Linked DNA regions of Homo sapiens: regions 1 and 3 are each linked to region 2. The links are contacts of gene promoters, found by promoter capture Hi-C in blood cells and fetal thymus (Javierre and others, 2016). All regions are on one chromosome and are shown on one strand. The core of a region is centred on a gene start or on the middle of the fragment in contact, and the rest is flanking DNA. Distances in the headings are between cores, read along the strand shown. Region 1 holds the start of SREK1IP1 (SREK1 interacting protein 1). Region 2 holds the start of CENPH (centromere protein H). Region 3 overlaps PPWD1 (peptidylprolyl isomerase domain and WD repeat containing 1).

The links. The method cuts DNA at HindIII sites, captures the fragments that hold promoters and counts their contacts. A CHiCAGO score of 5 or more calls a contact.
Region 1: a contact is called between the fragment with the promoter of SREK1IP1 here and the fragment with the promoter of CENPH in region 2, in 1 of 17 cell types (monocytes). The highest score is 5.4, in monocytes.
Region 3: a contact is called between a fragment that was not itself captured here and the fragment with the promoter of CENPH in region 2, in 2 of 17 cell types (monocytes and neutrophils). The highest score is 8.4, in monocytes.

The regions. Positions count from the first base shown.
Region 1 is chr5:64,766,686-64,769,970 of GRCh38, reverse strand. It overlaps SREK1IP1 (SREK1 interacting protein 1), which reads left to right and starts at 1,280. Exons shown (of 5, transcript NM_173829.4): 1 at 1,280-1,466. The coding sequence starts at 1,454. CWC27 (CWC27 spliceosome associated cyclophilin) reads right to left here and starts at 1,041. Exons shown (of 14, transcript NM_005869.4): 1 at 783-1,041. The coding sequence starts at 824. LOC124900985 (a long non-coding RNA gene) reads left to right here and starts at 1,475. Exons shown (of 4, transcript XR_007058787.1): 1 at 1,475-3,016. RefSeq lists enhancers at 545-1,269, 988-1,307, 1,458-1,547, 699-1,898, 1,270-1,996 and a silencer at 1,235-1,529. The HindIII fragment of the contact is 4,415 bases long and covers 939-3,285 here.
Region 2 is chr5:69,187,602-69,190,918 of GRCh38, reverse strand. It overlaps CENPH (centromere protein H), which reads right to left and starts at 1,336. Exons shown (of 9, transcript NM_022909.4): 1 at 1,151-1,336. The coding sequence starts at 1,284. LOC112267932 (a long non-coding RNA gene) reads left to right here and starts at 1,442. Exons shown (of 2, transcript XR_002956215.2): 1 at 1,442-1,928. RefSeq lists a silencer at 1,285-1,404 and enhancers at 1,263-1,557, 1,485-1,724. The HindIII fragment of the contact is 12,435 bases long and covers 762-3,317 here.
Region 3 is chr5:65,576,774-65,579,848 of GRCh38, reverse strand. PPWD1 (peptidylprolyl isomerase domain and WD repeat containing 1) reads right to left here. Exons shown (of 11, transcript NM_015342.4): 6 at 2,780-2,970; 7 at 236-425. Among named protein-coding and RNA genes, the nearest start is that of PPWD1, 15 kb to the right of the region's middle. The HindIII fragment of the contact is 2,456 bases long and covers 321-2,776 here.

The DNA of each region.
Region 1 (3,285 bases), core at 31-2,530, 4.4 Mb after region 2:
ATTCAGGTGACACTTATTCCACAACAGACTCTTCTGCCTTGTACAGCATACAAACATCTTGGATGGGAATTGGCATACATTAGCCATCAAATCAATCAGAGAAACCTTTCCCCATTCTAATGTGGTAATAGTCCCCATTTCCCACTTTCTCTGACTGACAGTCATCTCAGGTTTTAAAACCAGCTCAAAAGATATCTTTTCCATGAGGCTTTTCCTAACTTCCCCAGTTGTTCACTACTCAGTACCGCCATAGCAACCTGGTCTCTTCTCCACAAGCACGCTTATCAGACATACAGGCTTTTGTTTACCTGTCTGTCTCACAAACTAAACTATAAGCTTTTCCGGGAAAACAACTACCTTACCCATCCATCTTTGTATCTCCGGCGCCTAGTACAGTGCCCAGTGCCTCGCAGGCGTTCAATTAATGATTGTAGAAGAAATGGAGAATGAATGACCTTAGTTAAGCAAAGAATATATCAAACTCAAAAATGTCTGTTTAAAAACCTAAGACCCCAGAAATCGGCTGCATGAGTTGGGTTAAAGCATTAAATAGGACCGGAATGCTGGTAGGTAGAGAAATCTCCACTTGACTTCTTCAAGTACATCCTGAAAAGTACCAACATCAGTGTTTCGATGCAACATTGTCCACATGCAGGAGTAAAGACAACACTTCTCGTGGTCTCTTCCTACCACGAGATCCTGAAACCCACTCCCCACCCCAAATCCGGGAAATCTCACTTTGGGGATCCCAGGACCCCAAGTTCCCTAGATGAGGCTCTCACCTTCCCATTCGTGGGAGGCTCCTGGATGTAGATGTTGCTCATCTTGGTCAGTACAAAGGACTCTGCTCCTTACGGGGGATGAGAGCGGCCGGCCGGCCACTAAAGCTGTCCGCCTACGAGTACACTCTTCCTTAAGTCCAGTGGTGCAGGAAAGCTTCAGTTTGTCAATATCACGCAAGACAGGGACACCAAACACTACCCCTGCCCAAAGGAGCCCCTCACGGACGCCGCCATGTTGTTACCGGACCCGAGCACCGCTAACCCTGAGAAGGGTTATTCCAATGTACTCCAGGGAACGAGAAAAGTCCGTAAAGTTACCATAGCTTAATGTTATTTATGTTATTTGTATTACAATATTAGAAGGGACACTTCATAAGTGTTGGCGGTGTTTACACTACTCTCGTGTGCAGATCAAACTAACTCCCCCTCCAAAACTATCAGTAATGGTTCGGACCATGTGTCTTCTGCAATATGACTCGTCCGGAAACTGCATCCGCATCTACTGGTTCTGCCGTCGCTAGAGGCGTACAGGCCCTTCCCGACCGTAGCGAGGGTGCTGCTGCGCTGGGGGAAGGAAAACGCCGCTTTGACTGTGCCTTGTTCTCACAGCTGGCGGGAAGCAAGCGCCTTTTCGAAAGCCAGAGGCTCGAGTTACCCCTCTTACCACCGTCATGGCAGTCCCAGGTAAGGAGCAATTACAGGGCCTCTGCGTCCGAGCTCCGAAGGGAGCGCAAGGGAGGGTAGGGTAGGGTGCGGCGTGTACGGAGCAGCGCCCATGGGGATTTAGGCGGAGGCCTTAAAATTCACAGGTTTGTTTTGTTTACATGAAAAAGTTTACACTCCAAACATAAACTCTGAAGGAAAGAAAATAACTATCTTCCCCCCAGGAGCCAAGCCCCAGCTGCTTGGGATTACAGGGAAAGTGTATTGTGGAAGGGAGGGAGGAGGGAGAGACTGTAACTGTAGGCCTAAGGGGGCAAGCGGCCGAGAAAAACTACCTTAACTGTGGTATGGCTTAAAACTAAAACTTGAAGTGGGAACACTTGGCCGACCCAGGTAACCGGAGGCATCGTTTGTCTTAGAAGTCGCTAGGACCCACCGGGTGTGCGGGTTCTACTCCTAGCTCTTCCTGTTGTATGTAGCTGCTCCGTGGCCATAGATTGGTCGCTTTGTGCTTCTGGGCCTCAGTTTCCTTATAAAAAGAAGGAGCTTTGTTGAATTATATATAAGATTTCTTCTAACTCTCAAATTCTATGTCCAGAAGTTACTGACCTAAAAACGGTGAACTCTGCAGAATAATTACTTAAAAGATTTTCTCGTCCTCAACTACCAGCTTACTTGGAAGTTCTAGTAGCGGAAAGCATCTCCTCAAACCAGCTTTGCCACTGCAGAACACTGATTGCAGGAGACATTTTCAGAAATACACACTTCTCCACCCCACCTCCCAACTTGGAAATTCCCAGCGCACTTTAGTAATAGAAAAGATTCTATTCTATTAGAATAGAATACTATGAATTGCTATAGAATTACTATGAACTATAGAATTACTATGGTTCAGAACCCTAACTTTGTTTAAACCTGCACTTCCCAGTATTATTTGACCAGGTTCTTTATTCTGTGGCAGCCTTTTTGAACCTCCTTCTACAGATAGCTGTTATTGGAACACTGTGCTTTTGTACTAACTGAAGTTTGCGGAGGAGTACATCTGGAGCTGTGAGAGAGGAAATGTACACTCTTTATTAAGCCTACTGTGTGCCAGGCACTGGTACTGGGCATTGGAAATACAGTGGTGAGCAAGGTAGACATGGTTACGCTTCACACAGAACTTAGAATTTAGCAGTGAAGAGAGAGAAATTTACAGAAAGTGGGACAAGTGCCATGGCAAGGAAAATACAAGACCTTAGCACAAAGTAAGGGCACCAAACACATACAGGATGGGCAGAAGGACTTTCCAAAGGAGGTAGCACTTAGGAGGAGATCTGAATTGTAGGAGGGGTGGCTTGAAGGGAGAGGAGACTGCAGTCGGAGGAACTGGATACGTAAAGGAAGAGGAAATATGTGAAAAGAGGAAATGAAAGATGTTTTCTATGGATGGAACTCAAATACAGATGGGAGATAAGTGAGAAATTAAGTACAGAGGTAGTAGCTGTAGCTAATATTGACTAATATTTATGTGTCAAATATGTCAGAATGAAAGATGTTTTCTGTGGATAGAACTCAAATACAAATGGGAGGTAAGTGAGAAATTAAGTAGATAGTAACTGTAGCTAATATTGACTAATATTTATAAGTCAAATATGTCAGATACTATATCAAACATTGTATTCTATCTCATTTAATATTCACAACTGCACTGTGAAATGAGTATTAATATTCCCATTTTACAGATGAGGACACTGAGGGACAAAGAAATCAAGTAATTTGCCTATTATGAGACAGCTGGAAAGCAAGAAGTCAGTCTGGTTCCTCTAGACTGTGTACTTCATTCATTTTGCCATCGTAT
Region 2 (3,317 bases), core at 87-2,586:
AAAAATGGTAATTAATTTTTTTTTTTTGAGTCAAGAGTCTTGCTCTATTGCCCAGGCTGGAGTGCAATGGCACAATCTTCTGCTCACTGCAACCTCTGCCTCCCGGGTTCAATCAATTCTCTTGCCTCAGCCTCCTGAGTAGCTGGGATTACAGGCGCCCGCCACCACGCCCAGCTAATTTTTGTATTTTTAGTAGAGACGGGGTTTCACCATGTTGGCCATGGTTGGCCAGGCTGGTCTTGAACTCCTGACTTAAGGTGATCCGTCTGCCTCGGCATCCCAAAGTGTTGGGATTACAGGCGTGAGCCACCGCGCTCAGCCAATAATGATTTTTTTAAAACTACCTCTGTTATGATATAGAACAGAGGACCGCAAATTTTTTTCTGTAAAGGACCTGATAGTAAATTTTTTAGGGTTTGTGAGTCACACGGTCTCTGTTTTAGCTACTCAATTCCACCCTTGTGGCAGGAAAGTTGTACTCCAATAAAACTGTTTATGGAAACTGAAACTTGAATTTCTAATAGAGTTCACGTGTTATGAAATATTTTTATGATCTTTTCCCTGCAACACTTAAACATAAAAACTATTCTTAGCTTGAGTGGTCACACAAAAATAGGCAGTTAGGCAGATTTGGCCCAGGACCTTCTCCTGCTCACTAGTTTAGAAGACGAATGTCCCTTCTCATCGAATCTTCCCCAGCAACCGCTTAGTGGAAAAGTATAAACACCGTCCGCTTAGTAGAATTTATAACATATAAAGCTTCTGGGTTACAAAGGGTCGTAGTTCTAAAAGAAATGGTAGGGGCACCTTCCTTCCAGTTTAGCTCTGGCATTCAATTTGTCTGTAAACCAGAGAGGTAGGGGGAGGGCGGGGAAACAGGAGGAGAAATTACAGCTTCTAAGGGCCCGGGGCACTGTGCTCAACACTTTCCTAGACTATCTCATTTAACCCTTGTAACCTCTCTCCAGGGGGTCATTTTTCTCTCCTTTTCGCTGATGAAGAAAGAGCTTCAACAGTTTAAGTGAATGAGGCAATCACGGAGACCTGACGTGACCGAGCGTGAATTCGAACCCTAGCCCTTCTGAGCAAGGGCGGAGTTCCGGGCCACAACGCCCACTTGGCCCCGGCTGAGGAGGCCAAAGGGAACAACCTGAGGAGCAGGGTCATGCGGTCCTCGCTGCACGCCGCCTGGGCGCCGGCGACCTGCGGTGGCCCGCCTGCCCGGCCTTCCCCTCCGGAGTCCGCGGGCTCGTCGGCGTCTTGCATCTGGGGCTGCTCCTCCATTGCTGGTTGAGGGGAAAGGCTACCACTCAACAGGCAAACGCGCTCAGAAAAGGTCGCTTTTCCCGCCACTAAATGGACGCCGGGAAAAGGCCCGAGGGCCCCGCCCCTTCCGCCCAGGGCCCCACCCTTTCCGCCTTGTTTTTCGGTTGCCGTGGTTACTACGGGCTCCTCTTTCATCCGGGCTCTACTGGTGAAAATAACTGCAGACGGCTGGTAAAAAGTTGGAATAGCTTTCGTTAAGCGTCGGATGTGTAGAGTGCTGAGTTAGGGGCTGGACTAGAGACGTTGGGACATCTCCCGGGAACAGCAGCCTGGAGGGGAAAAATCTCCTGACCTAAGTGGTCATTCGGCCTTGGCGCTTGGACACGGGAGTGCGGCGACAGCCATATGTCCATCCATCTTGGCACTTTTCCGTCCTCTGCCTTTGAAGATGGGTGTGCCCGGCAGGCTGTGAAAGATAAACATTAGAGGGTTGTTTAGAAGACTTTTTTGACCTGAGCCCATGAGGTGCATACCCTTTGTTTGGCGGAGAAACCAGTGGCTTCTGAAGATCAGGGACGGGCCACAAGTGCGAGGCATTGCAGACATTTCGAACCCAGACTTCCAGCCTGGAGACATCCACACGCTTCCAGTTTCTTGCACTGGTACTTCATTCTGTCATTATGATTGCCACCACTCGTAACTGAGAGTTGCGTGCCCTCAAGTTTTGAGTGTCTGCAGGGTACCTTTGAGCTTTCTTAGCTGTGTAGTGAGTGGGGGGAATGGAGAAAATGAAGGACAGATGACTGATTTGTAGTTTTTCATTTGGACACTGTCCTTGCCGCACAAGCACAGCAGCTTGAACCTCTTTGAACAAGAGTCGAGAGTTCTTTTACAGCTAATTACCCACTAGTTAAACTTGATCATACTGTGCTGTTTTCTTCCTCTCCATTGTCAATGTAATACGGCTCCTGACAAAAGTTAAATTCGCTGGGCGTGGTGGCTCACCCCTGTACTCCCAGCACTTTGGGGGCTGAGGCGGGTGGATCACCTGAAGTCAGGAATTCAAGACCAGCCTGGCCAACATGGTGAAACCCCGTCTCTACTAAAAATACAAAAGTTAGCTGCGTGTGGTGGCGGGCGCCTGTAATCCCAGCTACTCAGGAGGCTGAGGCAGGAGAATCGTTTGAACCCGGGGGGGCGGAGGTTGCAGTGAGCTGAGATCGCGCCACTGCACTTCAGCCTGGGTGACAGAGTGAAACTCCGTCTCAAAAAAAAAAAAAAAAGCCGGGCGCTGTGGCTCACACCTATAATCCCAGCACTTTGGGAAGCCGAGGGGGGAGGATCTCGAGGTCAGGAGTTGGAGACCAGCCTGACCAACATGGAGAAACCTCGTCTCTACTAAAAATACAAAATTAGCCAGGCGTGGTGGTGGGCACCTGTAATCCCAGCTACTGGGGAGGCCGAGGCAGGAGAATCCTTTGATCCCGGGAAGCAGAGGTTGCAGTGAGCCGAGATCACACCAGAGATGCACGCCAGCCTGGGCAACAGAGCAAGATTCCTTCTCGAAAAACAAACAAACAAACAAAAAAACAGTTCAAAAGACACAGAATGGACTGGTGGCGATGGCCCACGCCTGTAATCCCAGCACTTTGGGAAGCCAAAGCGGAAGGATCGCTTGAAGTCAGGAGAACAGCCTGGGCAGCATAGTGAGACCTCGTTTCTACTTAAAACAAAAACAAACAAACAAACAAAAAAACAACAGGTGTGGTGACTTAGACCTGTGGTCCCAGCTACTCAGGAGGCTGAGATGGGAGGATCACTTGGGCCCCAGCCGTTGAGGACTGCAGTGACCTATGATCGCACCACTGCTCTCCATCCTGGGTGACAGAGTGAGACCCTGTCTCAAAAAAAAAAAAAAGCACAGGATGTAAAATCAGGCATTAGGTTTGCTATTCCTACATGTAAACTTATGGAACATTTTCTTGTTTCCTTTCATTTTGTTTTACAAAAAGGATGATCCCATTGTTAACTTTTTCTCTTTACCACTTAGT
Region 3 (3,075 bases), core at 299-2,798, 3.6 Mb after region 2:
AATAGTTGTGGAAACGAGGTTGAAAAATTTCAAAACATGATGGAAAACAGTACAGAAATACTTAAAATCAACTTCTACTTTAAAATTCTACAATATTAATGTAAGATGGTATTCTGGTTGTTTAGGAAGTCTGCTATTAGTGCCAACATTCTCTTCAGTTGAAGGTACAAACAAAGAAAAGTCAAACCAAACTGGAAGGAACATTACCGTCTAATCTCCTAGTACTTACACATACCATATAAAATCTATTCTTTTTGAATGATGTACAGACTATTGTTGGGTCAGCTTGAATATTCTGAAGAACAGGATTTTCAGAAGCTTTCATTTCTATAGTAGTTGCAGCACGATGCTTTTTGGCTATCCCCTGGAACAAAGCCAATTGCATCACTCTAATATTTTCTTGTTTGCCTAAAATCCGCACACACCTAAAAATATAACAATGTTTTATACAACAGAATCACCGAAGTTAATTCCAATTATGACAACTTTACAGATAAAAGCTGGGAATCAACTATCTTATCTATGTACAAAATAACTAGTGAAAGATTTTTAAAAGTGTTTCTCTACCCCCCAAAAGGTATCAATTTAAACTGGTAGGCAGCTATAATTTTCAGGTTAAAAAACAGAAATGAGGCCAGGCACGGTGGCTCACACCTGTAATCCCAGCACTTTGGGAGGCCGAGGCAGGCAGATCACTTGAGGTCAGGAGTTCGAGACCAGCCTGGCCAACGTGGTGAAACCCCATCGCCATTAAAAATACAAGAAATTGGTCAAGCATGGTGGCAGGCACCTGTAATCCCAACTACTAGGGAGGCTGAGACACAAGAATCACTTGAACTCAGGAGGCAGAGGTTGTGAGCCGAGATCGTGCCACTGCTCTCCAGCCTGGGTGACAGAACAAGACTCCATCTCAATAAAAAACAACAACAACAAAAAACCAATCAAGAGAATGAAAAGTCACAGACTAGGAGAACGGCTCATAAAGGACTGTTATCCAAAATATATAAAAAACTCTTTTTTTAAAAAAAAGTATATATATACACATATATATGTATATATATATACACATATATATGTATATATATATACACATATATGTGTGTATATATATATGTATATATATATGTATATACATATATATAAAGAACTCTTAAAACACAACAATAAGAACACAACCCAATTAAAAAATGTCCCAAGGACCTTCACATATACTTCATCAAAGAGATATACAAATGGTAAATAGCATATGAAAAGATACTCCACCTCATATGTTGCCAGGGAAATCCACACTAAAACAAGATACCATTACACATCTATTAAAATGGCCCAAATCTGGAACACTGACAATACCAAATGGTGGCACAGATGTGGAGTGACAGGAACACTCATTCATTGCTGGTGGGAATGCAAAAAGAGTATAGCCACTTCGAAAGGCAGTTTGGCTGTTACAAAACTAAACATTCTGTTACCATATGATCCAGCAATTGTGCTCCTTGGTATTTACCAAAAGGAGCTGAAATGACTACACAAACACCTGTACACAGATGATTATAGCAGCTTTTATACATAACTGCCAAAACTTGGAAGCAACCAAGATGTCTTTCAGTACGTGAATGGATCAACTGTGGTACATCCAGACAATGGAGTATTATTCAGTGCTAAAAAGAAATGAGCTATCAAGCTGTGGTGAGGCATGGAGGAAACTTAAATGCATATTACCGAAAGGAGCCAATCTGGACAGACTACATACTGTATGATTTTAGCTATATCACATTCTGGAAGAGGCAAAACTATGGAGATGGTGAAAAGATCAGTGGTTGAACAGTCAGAGCAGAGGATTTTGAAGGCAGTAAAACTACTCTATATGATAATATGATGGTGGATACATGCCATTATACATTTCTCCAAACCTATAGAATATACAACACCAAGGGTGAACCCTAATGTAAACTATGGACTCTGGGTGTCAATGTAGGTTCATCAATGGAACAAATGGACCACTCTGGTGGGGGACGTTGATAATGGGGAGGCTATGCATGTGTTGGGGCAGAGGGTATATGGAAAATCTCTGTATCTTCCTCTTAATTTTGCTGTGAACCTAAAACTGTTCAAAAAAGTAAGGTCTATTAAAAACAATCAATCATTTGTTTATACAGTTTTAACCTATTCTTATTAAAATTCCATGTCTGTTAACTGTTCTGCAAAACTTCAAAGATTTTGTATTGCCAAGAACTACAATATAAATATGTTTATACATGGAAATGTACAGGACATTTTTTTCTCCTTAAAATATTAAGTTCTGTTCATTTACATTCAGTGAGAGTATCTGATTGTAGCTATTTTGTACTAAGACCAAATGGACTGTTTTCACAAAAAAGGCTTACTGTGGTTTCATGCATTTTAACTTTTGATTTTATGTCTAGCAGGAAGTAATGCTGAATTCTGTGGTTAAAATCTTTGGCAACATTTAACATGAACCAGGCTAATTTAAATCAATAAGCAAAAGACAGACAAACTTGTTAAAAAAAACACACAACAACTTGAAACTATGCATATCTTCTTTCCATTTCTTTTACAAACATGAGTGGAAACTTTCTACATAAGATTATAAACAACCAAGAGACCACAGAAAAATCCAGTCAAAACATTTGGTTAAGTTTAGACATTTGGGGCCATTCCACTTTTCTTGGAACAAACAATACTCCCACTGTTCCCATGATGGAGGAAATGGTCCCCCACAAACACATTTTTAAAAAACATACCTCATATTAAAGCTTACCGGTTTGTCTCTACATTTATAACTTTAATGCCCAGCATTGTTCCATACAGCACGAAGTGTCCAGTTTCATCAAAAACTATATTAATTAATCTTACAGCATCAACCTTCTCCAACTCACGTTCTACAGCCATTCGTCGGCCAAATTCCATGTCTGGTAACTGTTGCCTCATCTGTTGCAGTTCAGTAAACATCTAGGAAATAAACCATTTAGTAACAAAAACTCTATATACATATACCTATATCTATATCAACCCATCTATCTATATATGCAATGAGAATTTAAATAGAAGCAGAAT